Linked DNA regions of Homo sapiens: region 1 is linked to region 2. Evidence: promoter capture Hi-C in human tissues and cell types (Jung and others, 2019). All regions are on one chromosome and are shown on one strand. The core of a region is centred on a gene start or on the middle of the fragment in contact, and the rest is flanking DNA. Distances in the headings are between cores, read along the strand shown. Region 1 overlaps UBP1 (upstream binding protein 1). Region 2 holds the start of SUSD5 (sushi domain containing 5).

Region 1 (4,350 bases), core at 1,042-3,541, 200 kb after region 2:
AAGTTCGCACCACTGCACTCCAGCCTAGGTGACAGAGCGAGACTCCATCACAAAAAAAAAAAAAAAAAAACTTTGAGTTTTGAAAAAAAAGAACTGGCATAAAACAAAAATCCGAAACACTGCCCGCTGCCTTGAAAAAGTGAACTTAGGCCAGGTGCGGTGGGGCTCATGCCTGTAATCCCAGCAGCCAATTAAAAGCAATTTTTTTCTTTGAGATAAAGAGTACCATGTGGGAGACATTTATAGGGCTCAGTGGCTGCTTTATTCCCATCTTCCTTACCTGCACCCACACCTGCAGGGCCTGTCCAAGCAATTACCCAGCACCCACTTCACACCATCACCTGACCAGAGCAAAGCTCTCATAGTGATGGTGCATAGGCTAGTGGTGGCCCCTAAGACACCAATGCCAGTGGTTCACATCTGCTAGCCAGCTCGTCTCCAGAAAAAAGTACAGCACAGAAAATATCACAGTTCTAATTGTTCCATACTCAGTAAGAACCATACTAACTACACATATTCAGATGAAAACAGTATTAGAATACAGGTATTAGACTTCAGAGCTTTACTAAGCCCCATTCTAGAAGGTTGGACTAAAATACTAAAGATAAAAGGAGGACCAAAGTTAGGAAATTACAAGATATATAAGAAAAATTCTAGCATTATATAGCTTTTAGAATTTGTCTAGCAGGTTTTCCAGTTTCTACCAGAAACCCCTACCCAAAAAAGAACGGAAAGGAAAAAAGAAAGGAATGAAAAGGAAGGGAGGAAGGGAAAGAAAAAGAAAGAGAGGGAGGAGGGCGGGAGAGAGGAAAGGAACTTCTTATATGAAACAGGGAGAAAATCTCGTTATCTGAAAGTTCTCCCTAAAAGGAGATTGACTGCATTTTCAGAACTAGCAACATGTGATGGGGCCCTAACAATAAGACTAAAAGAAAAAAATAGGACAAAAAAAGACGAAAACAGAACAATCAGAGAAAGCACATTGCTAAATATGTTCAGCACATTCAAGAAGTTCCAAAGCACCTTCGCAAACCTATCACTTGATCCCCAAGGTTCCCCCACAAATTTAAGTAGTATAGTCAAAGATCCTAGGGCCAGGAAATAAAACTCTAGAAATTTGAAGCATATTTTAGGGATTCTCTAGCTAAAAAAAGGATGTAATTTCCAAGAAACTCATCCTGCAGTCTTTGGTAGTAGCAGACAGTAGCTCTTAATCCCAGACAAGCTTACAGAATATAACTGCATGCCTGGCACATCCACCAAAAATCACACAGCTGGCTTATCAAACAGAAGATGAAGCCAATGTAAAATGCTTTAAAAATGAACCCTTTTCAATCAGTGGGCTAAATATTTAGATACTGATGCCTTCAGAATAAGTAACCTTGTCTAGGTGGAATATACTAGTGTTATGTCAGCAAAACATTCACTGTGCATTTATAAGTTAATGGTTTTGCTACTAACAGTAGTTCATTACGTCATAATGAGGTGTCATTTTTCCCTTAATTTATTTGCTTGCATTAATTTTGTATATTAAATGTTTTTACATGTTTTAATTTGGAAGTAAATACAAGGAAGTTGAACTTAAAGCAGTCATACAACTTTACCCTGCCATCCCAAGTTAATCTGACAGGTATTTTAACCAGCTTGCCAAAATATTTTAAACATTAGGTATCACCTATCAGACTAATTATTTCTAAATCCTACCACCTATTCAGGGAACTGCCCTGGAAAGCCAGCTTGTCTCCACTGATAAATGACAAAGACAATTGCTTCAGAATTGATTTTCTTCAATGCCTTGATGGACACTGAATTTTGGCATTTGGTCTGGATGTCAAAGTTTGTTATATTTTCCTCAGAACACTGAATGGTCATGAATGAAGAACTGAGTTAAAATTACAAATTAGTAAATTCTATAATCCGGCATACACAAAAAAAGCACAAGGGGAATAGATGAAACAAGTCTGGCAAATTGTGGAGAATGTTGAAGTTGGCATGAGAACTTATGAGAACTCATGATATATACCAGATATATTTATTATATACCACCATATGATGGATATATGTGGATTCATTGTACCATTCTCTTTACTTCTGGGTATGTTCAAATTTTACCATAATAAAAAGTTAAAAAAATTGTTCTAACATTTTTGGATCCAGTTTTAAAGACCTCAGTATAGGGCCCATCAAATCCTACTAAATTTTATTATGGAGTTCACAATTAAAACAACTTTCCAACCCTTTTACACTGATACATTAACAAAAAAAAAAACACAGAACAAAGAAAGACAAAAACAGAACAATCAGAGAAAGCACATTGCTGAATATGTTCTGCACATTCAAGAAGTTCCAAAGCACCTTTGGTAACCCATCATTTGATCCCTAAGTAACCTTCCAGGTGCCCTCCAGGTACTGGGCAGCTGGCTTTCCCATACATGCCAAATTAGTTAACACACCAAATTTAGATTGCCTGAATCCAATTCCCACCACAAGGCTGCCCTTCCCATGCTTACCCACTAAAAAGGCAGATCCACAGAGGGCAGGTCTTTCCAATAGAATGCCCCTCCACACTGAGGGCCCAGCAGCACCTGGGCCCTGACATGCCACTCTGTGGGAAGATGGAAGGATCAAGAGAACTTGTCTCTTGCTAACACTTAGTTAGCCACATGAGGTTTTACCTTTCCCCAATTAAGATTCTTTCATTAACCCTGCCCTGTAATGCTATGGAATTTATAACTAGCCATGATGTATGATGGATACAGGCTAGGAGGGGCCAGGGGGCAGGGATGGTTCTGAGGATACATCCTAAAAGAACAGGTTAGCTGGAAAACAGCTATGCCTCCTATACCTAGGATGACTGACTTCTTCATTCAGATACATGAGTAGGGTGAACAGAGATTTCTATTTTTTAAATGAAACTTTACAAGGTAAAGGATTTTTTAAAGTTTTATGCCAACATTGACATTCTTCCCCATATTATCTTTTACTTTTAGAGAGGCTTATAGGTTTTTGTTGTGGTGATGAGTTTTTTACCCCATAACTACAACTAACTTTTCTATTGCTCCTTGATTTCCAAGGGTCTTTCAAAATTACTCTACCCAATAACTGCTATAATTCCCATTTTACAGGTGAATAAACAAAATATAGCTCATAAAGTTAAAAAGTTGTAATACAACAATTATTGAAGTGAAATTAATTTTTTTTTAAACAAAAACTCATTCAATCACAGCAATATCCATTGGGAATTAAAATGGACTGTCCTTACCTTTACTAATTTTCCATTGATCTCAGGCATATCACCCATTTTCCGATTATCCAGCATCCGAATTTCATATGACTGACCTATTTAAAGAAATTGTGTATAAAAAACAATCCTTATAAAGAACATCACTTTGCTTAACATAATTCAAAATGCATGTTTCTCAGAACATACATTACACAATGATAGTTTGTTAATTTGCTACGGAAGCAAATTCAGGTTGATCCTTCTCTTCCCTGAAAATCACACCAACCTTCTGTTCTAACATTATTACAGGAGACAAGAGTTTCTCTGTCAATTTATCTTCATCTGCCACTCTCTTACACTAAACTTTTATTATGCTTGCATTACCTAAGACTAATTTTTGTAACAGCTTTTCTGAGATATAGTTTACATACCATAAAATTCACATTTTTAAAAAGTGTGTAAATCATTGGTTTTCAGTATAGTCAGAGTTGTGCAACCATCACCACTACCAGTTTTAGAACACTCGCATCATCCTAAGAAGAAACCTCTATTAGTCACTTCCCATCCCTCCCCCACCCCCCACCTGGCCAACTGCTAGCGATCACCAATCCACTTTCTGCCTCTACGATTTGCCCACTCTGGATACTTTCATAAACAGAATCATACAATATGTGGGTATTTGTGCCTTGCTTTTTAAACTTAGCATAATGTTTTCAAGGTTCACCCATATGTAGTATATATCAGTCCTTTTTATTGCCAAATAATATTCATTCCTTTTTATTGCCTAATACTATTCCACTGTGTAAAGACTAAACCAAATTTTGTTTATCCATTCATCAGCTGATGGATATTTGGGTTGTTTCCACTTTTAGTGTTTATTAGAAAACACAGATATTCACACATCAATCTAGATAATTAGGAAAATGCTGCTGTAAAAAAATTAATAATGTACTCCAAATCCACAAAAAATGATTTCTGGATTATCTGTTATTAAATAATAAAAATGACAGTATAATTTGGCATGCAGAAAATCAGTAAAAATTAAAGAATGCTTATAATATCACATGAAGTTGAGAATCTTTATAACTACCAACACCTTGTCCATACTCCCAGGGGGCTTACAGAAA
Region 2 (4,655 bases), core at 722-3,221:
TAATATAGCTTATAACTCTTCCTGGTTCTAGTATAAAAGTTGGAGCTCATAAAATTGAGTTTACTATAAGGAAGTATACCTATAATTGTCCACTGAGGAAGTGGGGAAAGAAAAGGAAGGAGAATGAAGAAAAGGAATCATTTCTGGCAAGCAGTAACAAAGAATCATGTGCTCTGGTGTTGTCCTTACTTTCTCTTTGACCAGTGACATTTCTGCCTTTAATTTTCTATGACCCGTATCAAGCTAGACAGGCACAAAATATTGATCCTTATCCACATGGCATTCCACTTAAACAGTTATAATGGGATGAAACTCTAAAACCTTATGGATTGCAAAAATATTTATTTAAAAGGAATTAAAGTTGGCACAATATATCTTGTTCAAAGATTAATATTAGCTCCAATTTATTCTACTTGCATTCTTTAAAATCAGCTTAATTTTCATGGCTCAATGTCAGTCAAAAAACACTACAGTGAAGAATTATCAGTAAACTGCTAATAGGTATGGGATTCTTTTGAGGAGTGATGGAAATGTTCTGGAATTAGATGCATGCAAACCATGGTTTTCACAACCTAATGAATATACTAAAACCCACTTAACTGTATATTTTAAAATGACAAATTTTATGTGAAATACATGTCAATTAAAAAAATTAGCAGTGGTTACTAACAGCCTTCAAAGTTAAAAATGTTTTGTCTCTAACACTCTCTCTGAGGATATGGAGAAATACGACATTCATCCTTAATTAGGAACGGAGAGCTTTTCAAGCCTGCACTTAAAACAGAGAGCACTAAAAACTCTACGACCTAGACGGTTTTTTCCTTGGCTTTCCCCTTTTCCTGACAACCATGCTTTTTTTTTTTTTCCCCATGTCTTCTAGTTTCACTCAATATCGTTGGCTAAACAAGAATCACATTTTAAAATATACAACGCATCCTAAATTGACGGAGGGCTTTTCTCTTTTATCAGTCTAATTCGTCCTAAGCTAGAACTACCTCATGGGTGTGAGAACTGCTGGCTTTAAGCTTGCTTCCTTCAGATGCTCCTGTACCAAGTCAGCGGGATTTTGTTCTAATATGAAAACACAGCTGAATTAGCTTTTCAAAAGGGAATGGATACAGAGCTCCAATCCTGCTCATTTTAGGGCAAGTATTACAAGCTAAATTCAGGCTGAAAAACCAAGCAAACGAACAAGAAGTGGATCAATTCTCAGAGAACCTGCCATAATCTGGCCCTTGCCCACTTCTCTACCTCATGTCTCAAGACGTCCCCTCGCCTCCAGGTACTTTGCTTTATCATTTGTCCCGTTTTTCCTGTCACTCAGAGACAGCCTTTGCACGTGCTTTTCCCTCTGGCCAGGCCATTCTCTCTCTCTTAGCCTCGCTGATTCCCACTCATCTTTCACGTCTTCCCGGACCAAGCCAAAATATCCGAGGGAGTTTTCTAACCATCGGCGGTGTCCTCAGGGGCACATTAATAGACGTTGAGAAACTGAGGGACGGCGGAAAATCACCCCTTAGCAGAGGAGGTTCTAGGGCACCTTAGAGGTGATTTCATTCGAGCTTTCTTGGAGACCTTAGGAAAGCCAGCGGCGGGACTGCGGGACCTACGCGCTCGGCGCTAAGGGAGGGTCCAGGCACCAGGCGGGCGTTTGGGCGCACGGGCACGCGGAGACTTGGTGGGCCAGGAGAGGGATGCTGGGTCGCAGGACCGCGGCTCGTTCGTTCCTCTCAGGCTTGCGCTTGCCGCTTGCCGGGCCGGTCAGAGGGAGCAGCCCCGGCGAGCTACGCCCTCCCTGCCCGGACCCCACGCTCCACCCCCCGCCCCGCCGCCTCCCGCACACTCACCATCCGCCCGCACCGAAAGGCGCGGCAGACCGAGCAGGAGCAGCGCCGCCGCCCAGAGCCCGGGGAGGCGTCTGTGCCAACGGGCAGGCGGGCTGGGTCCCTCGGCAGTCATGGTCCGGGAGTGCGCGGGCCAGCGGACTCGGGTGAGGGCTCTGGCTGCGTTTGGGGTTGCCCAGGCCACTGCCCAGCGTGCGCCACTCGGCTCTGCGCTCTGCGCTCGGCTCACGAATCGCAGGCTTCGCGCCGGGCGCGCCGAGAGGGAGGAGCGCGGAGAGCCGGGGGAGGCTCGGGACGCAGAGCCGGAGCGCCTGGGCCGCCGAACTCCCGGGGGTCTTCTCTGTGGCGCCGAGGAGGCGGCTGTAACCCGGCTCCGCCTTCGCGCTGGGCACCTGGAAACCTCGGTGCCAAAAGGGGCTGCGCTGGGCCGCGCGCTCTGCGGGTACAGCGGGGCGGAGGGCGAGGGCGCAGGGAGGCGGGGAGAGTAGCTAGCCGGCCGCAAGGAGCCCCCGCCCGTCTGGGGGACCCTTGGCGAGAGGGTGACGCAGTCTGACAGGCGGAGCCCCTCCGGCAGGGCCGTTAGACAACGAGTGTCTAACTCTGTCCTCGGCCTCTACTTTTCAACTGGCCTCCTCCCCCTCCCCACCAACACTCTTTTTTTTTTTTTTTTTTAATGAAGAGAGGAAAATCTAAGTTACCTACCACCCTCACTCTAAGGTGTGAAACGCATGGAATAGCGAAATTCCTCTTTCCTAAAAGCGAAGTTTGAGAGTCACTGAGGAAAGGATATCTTCAGGAACGCTTCCTTCACCACTTTTCCTGGTACGCTAGTATTTCTCAAGGAGCAGTAAGAGGGCTAGTGAGATTGTCACCATTATCACCCACCTCCCAAATCAGGGCTTTTTGACCTCGAAAGGGTCTGAGATTCGGACTCTGTCGGTCTGGTCTGGGAATCTACACTCTAAGTTAAAGTGTCCCAATGGATTCTGCTGCAGGGGTCCCTGTTTGACTTGATTCCTTCTTCCTGCTCGCCCCTAGCCTGTCTCCCTACCACCAGCCCTGTTCAGTGAAAGAAGAACTTGCTTTCTTCATAGGTAGAGTAATAAAGATCAGTATTGTTATAACTGAGGCATGCGCGGTGCTCTACAATTTGCAAATCCCTTTTATATTGATGTATGGGTCAACAAACATCTATTGAGTGCCCATACATGCCTGTCCCTGTGCTAGACCCTGAATGTGGCTGCAATCGGTCCTAAAAATGTTCACACTTAAATAAAATATACTTACAATTGAAAAAGTGATTGGTGCTAAAGGGGCAGATGATTATCCTCATTTAATGAACCAGGACACAGACATTGAAATAATTTACTTTCTTTTCACAGTAAGAACTTGGATTTGAATCCACATCTGATTTACTACAGGTGTCATTTTTCAGCTTGCATTAATTGTTGAAATGTACTGAAAAGATTTCTTCTCTCCTTATTACTTCCCATCAACTACAAGGGCTACTATTAATGAGTAATTATTTTGGATAATTAAACTTTGCTTTCAAAATACAAATACTGGCCGGACACGGTTGCCCAGGCCTGTAATCCAAGCACTTTGGGAGGCGGAGGCCGACCAATCACCTGAGATCAGGAGTTGGAGACCAGCCTGGCCAACATGGTGAAATTTCCATCTTTACAAAAATACAAAAATTAGCCGGGCGTGGTAGCTGTTAATGCAGTGAGGTGTTAAATGCAGTGAGGCCTGACAAGTATAAATGAATTTACTTAGCTCCTTCCCTTTTTTTTTTTTTTTTTTTTTTTTTTGAGATAGAGTCTCGCTCTGTTGCCAGGCTGGAGTACCGTGGAGCGATCTTGACTCACTGTAACCTCAGCCTCCCAGGTTCAAGCGATTCTCCTGCCTCAGCCTCCCGAGTAGTTGGGACTACAGGCGTGCACCACCACGCCCAGCTAATTTTTGTATTTTTAGTAGAGACGGGGTTTCACCATGTTGGCCAGATGGTCTCGATCTCTTAACCTCGTGATCCGCCGGCCTCGGCCTCCCAAAGTGCTGGGATTACAGGCATGAGCCACCACACCCGGCCAGCTCCTTCCCTTTTAACAGTTAGCTGGTAACCTAAGGAGTGAGACTTCACATGTCTGGACTGGAGGGGTCATTTTAAAGCCTGGTTAGTGCTGAGAACGGAGGGGAGGGATCAGAAGGTACCTGCCAAGAGCTACCAACTCACTCACTCAGGAGCTTTGCCTAGGAACATTTTAAAAACAGTCAATTGAATATTACTACTTAATTCTCCTAACATTTTCAAGATTATGCTTATTCACAATTGTCTTGGCCTGTCCTGATGTGAGGAGATGGCATGCTGTAAGGGTAATTGGTATGGTTGCTTTAGAAAACCGGCTGTTCCATCTAAACATATACCTGCCTTAGGACCCAGAAATTCCTCTCCTAGGATTATATCCAAAAGAATGAGAACCTATATTCACAAAAATATTTGTGCACAACTGTTCATAGCAGCTTTATTTGCAATGATCAAAAACTAGAAGGAATTCGGATATCATCAACAGATGAATAGAAAAACAAACTGTCATATTCACACAATAGAATACTATTCGACAACAGGAATGAACTACTGAATGAACTACTCAACACGTGAAAGAATCTCAAGGATAGCATACAGAGTGAAAGAAGTCTTACACAAAACAATTCATACTGTGTAATTCCATTTATATGAAGTTCAAGACAGGACAAAACTAATCTGTGGTGAAAACAGTCAACACAGTGGTTGCCTTTGATAGAACGGGAACA

The links. Contacts are between HindIII fragments. The study calls those that stand out against the background at their distance.
Region 1: a contact is called between a fragment that was not itself captured here and the fragment with the promoter of SUSD5 in region 2, in 1 of the 25 tissues and cell types used here (hippocampus).

The regions. Positions count from the first base shown.
Region 1 is chr3:33,413,496-33,417,845 of GRCh38, forward strand. It overlaps UBP1 (upstream binding protein 1), which reads right to left. Exons shown (of 16, transcript NM_014517.5): 3 at 3,263-3,339. It also overlaps a transcript of FBXL2 not described here and the pseudogene RNU7-110P. Among named protein-coding and RNA genes, the nearest start is that of UBP1, 25 kb to the right of the region's middle. The HindIII fragment of the contact is 5,299 bases long and covers 1-4,350 here.
Region 2 is chr3:33,216,839-33,221,493 of GRCh38, forward strand. It overlaps SUSD5 (sushi domain containing 5), which reads right to left and starts at 1,972. Exons shown (of 5, transcript NM_015551.2): 1 at 1,848-1,972. The coding sequence starts at 1,959. The HindIII fragment of the contact is 17,520 bases long and covers 1-4,655 here.